Linked DNA regions of Homo sapiens: region 2 is linked to region 1. Evidence: promoter capture Hi-C in human tissues and cell types (Jung and others, 2019). All regions are on one chromosome and are shown on one strand. The core of a region is centred on a gene start or on the middle of the fragment in contact, and the rest is flanking DNA. Distances in the headings are between cores, read along the strand shown.

What was found. The method cuts DNA at HindIII sites, captures the fragments that hold promoters and counts their contacts. A contact is called where the count stands out against the background at its distance.
Region 2: a contact is called between a fragment that was not itself captured here and the fragment with the promoter of PIEZO2 in region 1, in 2 of the 25 tissues and cell types used here (aorta and lymphoblastoid cells).

What each region holds. Positions count from the first base shown.
Region 1 is chr18:11,148,057-11,152,882 of GRCh38, reverse strand. PIEZO2 (piezo type mechanosensitive ion channel component 2) reads left to right here and starts at 3,314. Exons shown (of 56, transcript NM_001378183.1): 1 at 3,314-4,358. The coding sequence starts at 4,295. It overlaps LOC124904249 (a long non-coding RNA gene), which reads left to right and starts at 4,367. Exons shown (of 2, transcript XR_007066288.1): 1 at 4,367-4,826. RefSeq lists silencers at 2,962-3,411, 3,652-3,931, 3,952-4,131, 4,142-4,211 and enhancers at 3,905-4,743, 4,772-4,821. The HindIII fragment of the contact is 6,242 bases long and covers 301-4,826 here.
Region 2 is chr18:11,217,212-11,221,781 of GRCh38, reverse strand. No RefSeq gene overlaps it. Among named protein-coding and RNA genes, the nearest start is that of PIEZO2, 70 kb to the right of the region's middle. The HindIII fragment of the contact is 4,419 bases long and covers 1-4,268 here.

The sequences.
Region 1 (4,826 bases), core at 2,065-4,564:
CAAAGTATCCCAGAGAATAACAGACATAGAGCTAAACATGACACAGGGCTAAACACATTATCTGTGTTTTCCTAGTAAGCATGATACAAACAAATTAGTGTTTGGGACAAAGATCGAGTTTCTGAATGATTTTGTCAATCAGTGCAACAGTAAACCAAATTTAGAAAAGATAAAAGCTAGGGCCAGGTGCGGTGGTTCACCCCGGTAATCCCAGCACTTTGGGAGGCTAAAGCGGCTGGATCACCTGAGTTCAGGAGTTCGAGACCAGCTTGGCCAACATGGCAAAACCCTGTATCTACTAAAAATACAAAAATTAGCCAGGCGTGGTGGTGTGCGCCTGTATTCTCAGCTACCTGGGAGGCTGAGGCAAGAGAATCACTTGAACCTGGGAGGCGGAGGTTGCAGTGATCTGAGATTGTGCCATTGCACTCCAGCCTGGGCAACAGAGTGTGACTTCATCTCAAAAAAAAAAAAAAAAAGATAAATCTAAACAGGTGAGATGAAATGCACACAAGGCAAAAAATGACACACTATGGAGAAAACCTTGAACACTTAAGAAAATGTTGATCAGTTCTTAAACATATTGCTGGGAGCATAAACATATTGCTGTCTGTCTCACTGCAGGTCACTGTGCTTTAGCATAATTGTTTGATAAATGTAGAATTAGTTCTTGTTTTTCAACAACAATAATAACAACAATAATAGGAATAATAGCAGCCAATATTCATTGAATGATTACTATGCACCAGGCATTTCTCTAAGAACTCTATAAACTGTCTCTATCTGTGTAGACTCCATATTGGGTAGGTTTTACTGCTTTCCTTAACTTACAGATGAAGAAGCTGAGGCACTAAAAGTCTCAATAATGATCAAAAGAAGTCATTGTTTGTCATTGTGGATGCAGAGAGGCATAGGGTGTCTGGTGCTTAATTCATTACCGGGGTAAACTGGTGATTATACACATCAGGTACCCATGAAATATCAAAATAATATGTCCATGAGTATTTTACATGTTTGATTTCTCCCCAAAGCATTTTTAAACTCACATACTCTTTCAAATTTTAGACAAGATTCTGGCAAACTTTGGAATAAAGTTTGCCAGGCAAGCAGAGCTCCCGAACAGTGATCAATACCCTCATGGGCTGGTGAGTCCTTAAAAACTAACCTGTCTAGACACCAGATACTGCTTCTATGAGAGCAGGGAAAATTGAGGGTTAAACAGCCCTTGTAAAAACAATGCCACTGCTATGGATATGTATGCTCAAGTCAAGTCCATTGTGAAAGAAAATACAGCTTCAGAAAGGTGGATGAGGTTTGGAGATGCTGGTTTTGAAAGCCAATGGACTATTTTCTGAGTCTGATATGAAAATGAGGACAGCGGTCTTCACCCCTGACTGCATACTTAAGAATCACTTGAGAGCTTTAAGAAAAATACAGGTGTGGGGGCCCCATCGCAGACCAATTAAATCAGGATTTCAGGGAGTGTGGAGACTGAGCGTTTTTCAAAAGCTCCCCAGGTGACTGCAACATGTAGCCAGCATGGAGAAGCCTATTTCAGATGTAGTCTAGACCGCTGAAACTTCCCCTTGAGTACATACGTTGGAAGTCTCAGAACTGGGATGTAGTTGTTAAAATCTCTAACGCCCCAGCAGCCAAGTTGGTACACACTGTGGCAGAGAAAGCTCGAAGTTTATTTGGTAAGACCACCCACCTGCTGGGAATCTTGTGCCTCCCAGCTTATGTTATTTTGAAAGAGAATTATTGTGAAAAAGTCTAGACAGTTGTTAGTATGGGAAGCCTATCAAGAACATAAGAAAGTATTCAGAGAATACAGAATTCATGTGATGACACAGTATTATTTAAAATTCAGGAGTCCTTCACCTATTAGCTCCCAAGAATGAGTCGTACATGGGGTGAGGTGGGGAGGGCATGGATGTGAAGGCAGACTTATGAACATCAAAATTAGTGGTAGATTTATATCAGGCTTCTACAAACAGGCTACACAAACCATTTCTTGATAGCATTTCTTGGTGACTGGATGCTAATTTAAGTTCTATCGTCTCCTGTAGGTCTGCTGTTGAGCTCATGACTACGCCCGGGTTTAGGTGCTATCTAAGCTTCTTGAGGATGGCAGAGCACATGGGTGGTTTAAGTTTCAGGGTGTCTTCACCATATGCCAACTGTCTTGAGTCTTCATTCAAAAAGCAATGGTTCATAGTTTTTCTGTAATTCTCAGAGAATTCGTGAAGGCACCTGAGCTCAAACCACAAGCTTACCCTGTCTCAAAAAAGGGATGTCCACAAAAGCGTTTCAAATGGCTAAAAAGACGGGGGTTTGCCTGTTTTTCATCAGCTCACTGCTCTATCCCCTCCAACTAATGCAAGCCAGGAATGTAGGTGCGGAAGGGAAGCCAGGTCCTTCCCAGTGTGTCCTCCTGATGGAATGCCAGTCCTGAACAGTCCTCTCTACAGATGCTAACAGCCTCTTCCTCCATGTCCGGAAAGACCCCTACTGTGCTCTAGCAAATCTCCTCCACTCTCGGATAACAGTTAAATAAAAGACCCAGGCACACTGCAGTCTCCCAGCTAGAGCCAGATTTCTCTAGATCTTGCCTAGAACAGGCAAAAAGCAGTGCACTAGGAGAAAGGGAGAATATTCTCAGTGCCAACGCTCTCTTTCCCCAGAGCCACGACAAGCAAGGAGCAAAACTGAGGTGAAAACGGAGAGTTCCCCCAAATGCACAAAGTGGGTGCATTATCTGTTGGGGAAGACCCGGGATTTCCCAGAGTCTATTCAGAATGGCAAGTTCTTGCTATGTGAAATATGGGCAGGGTCAACGGTGTAGATGAATTCAGCTCTATTCTTCTTAATGCCAGTGTGCACCTGTGGACCCAGCAGAAGTCGGGGTCGCACAGGACTCTCCAAGCCCCTGGCTTCTCTCCTGCCGGGCCTGTGCGTTTCCCTCGGACCTTAAACGGTTCCCTGGGTTTGGGCAAGCTCAGGGCCCGGCCGGGTGGACTGGATGCCAGGGTGCACCACCGGAATGACAGAACCACGCAGAGCCGCGGGGCTGCGGGAGCCAGTGGGGCAGGAGTGCCCGCGGAGGGCGAGCCAAGGCGCGCAGCCCACTGGCAGGCCAGGCCGGGTCTCTCCCAGGCGCGGGAGCCGCGGGTGGGGGCTTGCCCTCCGCGCCGGTGCAAGGCTCTCACTTCCCCAGCCGCTCAGGGGCGGGCTCCGCGCGCGCAGGCCCCGGAGCCGCCATCCCATTGGCCGGGGGACACGCCCGTCCCCGAGTGAGGGCTTCGAAAGTTTCATTGAAGGTGGAGAAGCGCGCGCCGCCGGGGAGCCCCGGCTGCGCCGCGAGGGCGAGGCTGCAAGGCGGCAGGCGGTGGTCGCGCTGGGCGACGGGACGGCGCTGGTTTTTCTCTTGAGTTTTAAATTGAGGCGGTGGAGGAGGGAGTGGGAGACCCACTCACCCGATATGCGCTCTGGTCTCCATTTCTCCCCACGCTCGCGCCGTTCCTTCGAGTGAGGGAGGGACTCGCAGCGCCGCCCGCGCACCGGACCCACAAGGCGAGCCCCGTGGTGGCGGGGATGGTTCTGCGCGCCTGGCAGCTCCCACCCCGGTCTCTCCGGCCCGAAGCTGGGGGGCGCAGGGGCTGAGCTGCGCTGCCTCTCGGGGATCCGCCGCGGGCCGCCTGGGGGCTGGAGGGCGAGACCCGGAGCCCGCCGGGCAGCTCCGAGAGCCGGGGCCGAGGCCAGAGCGCGGCAGCCTGCGTGGGCAGCGGAGACGAGGCCGGGCAAAGGAGACGCGGTGGCTTCAGAGGGGCTTCCAAGTAGAAAACTCCCCGGCCGCCCCCAAACGACGCCCCGGGAGCCAGGCGGGAGCACAGCACGCCCTTCTTGCCCCCTTTGCTCGCCGCGCCGCCTCCCAGGACCCTCCCAAAGCGTCCCTCTCCAAGGCCCCGGCATCAGCTACCCCTGAAGAAGCCGCCGCCGCTGCCGGATCCAGGATTCACACTAAATGGGCCGGCCGCAGGGGGCCGGGCGCCGGGCTAGGTGGCCGCCAAGAGCCTGGTGAGGGGCTACCCAGAGCCCGGTGGGCGAGGGGCGGCCAAGAGCCCCGGGAGCGTGCCCTCGGGGCGGAGAGCGTCGCGGCCCGCGCCGAGGCGATGCTCGGGTGGCTGCGAGCTGCCGGCGGCGAGAGGCCATAGACGGGCATGGGCCTTGCGTCCCACCACCCCTAGGGACCCTCGAGCCTCGCCCCTCTGCTCCGACTCGCCGGACCGACGCGATGGCCTCAGAAGTGGTGTGCGGGCTCATCTTCAGGCTGCTGCTGCCCATCTGCCTGGCAGTAGGTGAGTCTGGTCCGCTTTCCGAGGGCACTTGAGGAGGACGAGGGGGGCGCCTGGGTGGGGGACTTCTTAACAAAGTGAAGGGCTCTGGTGCTCTGGGGTTCGATTCGGGAGGCCAGCGGCGTCAGACGCGCGCTGTCCCTGGTGCACAGCCTGGCTCTCTCACTTCCCACTCTGGGGCGCGCGATCGGGGTATCTCTTAACAGGATGCTCGGGACGGGCATGTGCTGGAAACTGTTTATGTTGAATTTAGTTACACGTGGATTTTCTTTCGTGGAGTACTGACTTGTGTACTAAGGATGGCCATTGCTGTGGCTGGAAGGCGGATGCGTCCCCATCGTAGGTACAGTCAGGCTCCTACCTGAGCCCCTCGCCCCAGTGACCCTGCAAGCACAGCATGCTGTGCCTCCAGACGGCCCAGAGGCCATCTCTCCCAGACCCCAAATCCCAGCAACCGTGAAGGAAGAAGTG
Region 2 (4,570 bases), core at 810-3,309, 70 kb before region 1:
GACATTCTTTTTCAAGTTGAGGAAGCTACCCTCTACTCCTAGTTTTCTGAGAGTTTTTATCGTTAAAGGGGGTTGGATTTTGTCAAATATTTTTTTCTGCATCAGTTATCTTCTTGCTATAATAGATTATATTAATTGATTTTTAAATGTTGAACCAGACTTACGTACTTGGAATAAATCTCACTTGGTTGTGGTACGTACATTTTATTTTGTTTTATTTTTTCAGACAGAGTCTCGCTCTGTTGCCTAGGCTGGAGTGCAGTGGCGCAATTGCTGCCCACTGCAACCTCTGCCTCCCAGCTTCAAGCAGTTCTCCTGCCTTGGCCTCCCAAGTAGCTGGGTTTACAGGCACGAACCACATACCACACCTGGCTGGTATGTACCTTTTAAAGATACATTGTTGAATTTGATTTGTTAAAATTTTATTGAGTTTTATTTACATCAATGTTCATGAGAGAGTTATGGTAAAGATAACTAAAGTTATTAAATTTTGGTGAAAAGGGGAAAATAAAATAAAAGTACACTCATGCATTGCTTAACAACAGGGCTGTGTTCTGAAAACTGTGACATCAGGCAATTTCATCATTGTGCCAACATCATAGGGTGTGTTTTTACAAACCCAGATGGCAGAACTTACTACACACAGGTTACACAGTGTAGCCTACTGTCCAAGGCAACAAACCTGTACAACATATGACTATACTGAATACTGTAAGCAAAATATGTAAGTAAAAATATGCTCTTACATTCTTGTGGGATCCCTTTCGTATATGTTGTCTGTCATTGACCGAAATGTCCTTATGTAATGCATGACTGTGTTTAAAGAGAAGGACATTTAAATAGTCTTGGGAAATAGGTAAGTAAGAGATTAACAGATGCACCAAATGCTATTTTATTATATTTTCAACATTTTTTTCTTTTCTTTTTCTCTTTGAGGTTCCACACATCCATCTATGTAGGTAACTAGCTAAAATTGATATGCTATATTCCAGTTCTAGTCTCTACACAATTGTCACAAATCCTAATGCTCTTAATCACCCATCTCCTGGCATGTGGCCTAGTCACAGGACTCAGCCCATTCCCCTAAAGCCTGGTCTTGTTTAAAGGAGTCTTGTATCTGATTGTGTCTCACATGAGCTAGCAGAGTGTTCTTCAGCTCATTATCACTGACATGCTTCCTTATGTCCTTGCCTGTTGCCTGCAAAGCTGTTTAAAGGAGCCTGCTGCTTCTTTGGAGGATACCAAAGTCCCCAACATTTGAGTTTTGCCTACTCATGCTCCCAAGCCCCTATTGTGAATTGCAAGATCATATTGGGGTCTATGCAGAAATGTAAAAATGACACTATCTCAAACTCTGGCCCAGTTCTTCACCTAGATGCCAAAGGAGTTCTACTTGTGTTCAATGTCAGAAAGCATCTTCTGGAAAGAACTGATCCTCCTAAAGATTTAAACTCAGTCCATGAGACTAGACAAGGAGGGATGACACACCATCTCTCGGCTCTCCAAGGCCTCTGATTCTTACCTATGAACACCTCATTGGAGTGAGATATTCCCCTCTCCAACAGGTTTTGGTCACTGTGCAGTCTCAGTCCTTACCTAGAAAAGATTTTACCTAAAATGCTAAAGCTTAATCCAAAGGTTTATTCTCAGGTTCTTAAAGATTTGCATGAGGATGTTCTAATTTTTGTTTAAGCTTTGATTATGATCTAAATTCAATGGTATATACTTAATCTGGACAAACACCTTAAAAATAAATACAGATGTTTAACTTCAGAGCCTGGGTTAGCATTTCTGTGAAGATTATGTTTGATCAGAGAAAGCTAAGTTGTACCAAGGAAGACTTCACAATATTTCAAAAAAAAATGTAACAAAAATTGAGTCATTACCCAGAACGCTAGCTTCTTAGTTTATTTAATGGAAAAGAGTCTGAGCTACAGAGGTCAGCAACCTAATGATTTGGCTATGGAGACAGTGTATTGATTGATTGTGTCTTCTTAAATACCAACTTGGAGTTTATTCCCAGTAAGTGTAGCTGTAATTATGTAATGAAGAATGTTTTTCTGTTTACAATTCTAGAGATAATTAAATGCAGATTTCAAAAATTCCACAATGCTGTCTTTTAAAAATAGTTTTCCTCAACAATAAGAACTAATCTATGTACAAATATTTCATTTGATTCTGGGAACAATTTATGAAGCAGTTTGTTCTCTTAGTTTATGGACAAAGAAATAGGGAGAACTGCTTTTCAAGATCACGTGGGTGGCAAGGGAACAGTGGTCCTGAATCTTTCTTGTTTAGCAGAATCATATTCCTCATGATGCCTCCACGGTTTCCAAGGATGTTCCTGGTTTTCTTTCATTTAACATTTGCATAAACTTTTACAAGAATTTCTCATGATACATTTAAAAATATATAACTGCGTATGTGATTAGCCATGATTTCGTGGATCACTAACTTGCACAGTGTCTTTCAGTCTCTGCCAACATCAGATTCAGCTGAGAGAAGAGGTCACCCAGCCATGTCCCCAGAGGCCCCGTCCTTCCAAGACGTCTGTCCTCTGTTCCTTTGAGAAGCTGAAAACAGCACAAGAATGCCAAAGGGATATGGATTCCTCTTTAGTACTTCATAATACGCAGGCTACCTGCTATTCCTTGTCTCTTATTTCTTCCAGGGAAAAACTCTGCTGCTTTGCTTAATGAAGTCAAACTATAATTTGAGAGTGGGGGGAAAATACAGTCAATACAGTCTAAAGAAATGTATAAGAATGAAAAAGACTTTGGTGAGATTTTCCCCATTGATGTGTATTTATTTGTATTGTATTATGAATTTGATGAGAGGTTTGAAAAGGCAACTCCTTATTTCATGGATTTAGAAAAACATTTTTTGTTAATTCATATCTTAATGTGGAATGTTTTTCCTTTGAACTGAATAACCCAGTTTGTTGATCACAGGATGATCTAGTCTAAGGGCCTGTGATATGGTTGGCAAGATGTTGGGTAATTGATCTTTCTCCCCGTTCCCCAGCACAGACCTCAGGGATGTGTTTGGACCTGGAGAGGCTGAGAGTGCTGGATGGTAGCAAGAATATAGTGCACTGTGTAAGTCTAAGATGAGTGAGGCACATCTGGCCCAGGTGAATGCATCTTCGGCATGTAACCACGTGGGGCTAATCCAAAACAGATGATTTGAAGAGGATTATATTGAGTTTGTCAGTCACAGACACAAGAAGCAAGAGTGATATGGTGAACCTGACCCCAGAAGACCTCAGTTCTAATTTAGATTCTGCCAATTGTGAGCCATGGGCAAAGAAATAGGGAGATCTGCTTTCCAAGGTCACATGGGTGGCAAAAGACCAGTGTACATAATTCAACCCCTCACTTTCTTACCCAGACCTACACCTCTTCCTGACTCACCCCCAAAACCCTGTTTTCTTCCAGGCATCCACACTTGAAACCTTGGATCACTCTGTACTCTCCTGTGTACGTCAGTGCCATCATCCAATCAGTTTCCAATACAGTTACATCATCTCCCCACCCCTCCTGCCTTTCACTACCTCACAAATTGGAAATAACCAATGAGATAGTACATTTGAAAGTATCCAATTACTTCAAAATAATTAGAAAAACAAAACATCAAAGTCAGAAAACAGAATAAGGCTCTACAAAGTTGCATTCAACAAATCAGAATCATTTCATCCTTTCAGATATTTGTATATGTACCAGATAGTGCTTATAATCAATATTGTTTTTGAATTATTAATAGTTTCTTTACCCATGTAACATGTGAATACAATTCACTTTGATGCAAGGTTTCAGCATTAAAGACAAGACTCATATTCCTTTTCAGAACCTCAAGTTGCAGCCCTCTGCCCACTCATCAGAAGTGACCGTGAAATCCTGCTGCACCTTCTACATCCTTTTACAAGCAGAGGTGCCCCCTCGGGAAAGATTCAGTATCAATTTGTGTTTATAAACTTATTATCCTCAAGTTATAAATCACATTCTCGCCTGTAATCCCAGCACTTTGGGAGGCCGAGGCGGGCGGATCACGAGGTCAGGAGATCGAGACCATCCCGGCTAAAACGGTGAAACCCCGTCTCTACTAAAAATACAAAAAATTAACCAGGCGTGGTGGCAGGCGCCTGTAGTCCCAGCTACTTGGGAGGCTGAGGCAGGAGAATGGCGTGAACCCGGGAGGCAGAGCTTGCAGTGAGCCGAGATCCCGCCACTGCACTCCAGCCTGGGCGACAGAGCGAGACTCCGTCTCAAAAAAAAAAAAAAAAAAAAAAAAATCACATTCTCTTAATTTTTTATTCGATAAATAATCCCCCCCCCAACAGACGTCATAAAGGTGCACTTTCTTATATTTATCTGCTCCTGGTCTTCCATAATATGCATACATCACAGCTTATCACCTACCTCACTGCTGTTTTTATTTTGCTATTTTGTTTTCAATTTCTCACTCTTATGAGCAATGTTGTGACATACCCTTTACATGTATGTTTTGTGCATGTGTGAGCATTCCTATGAAATAGATACTGGCAAGAGAAATTTCTGGATTGGAGGGTGTG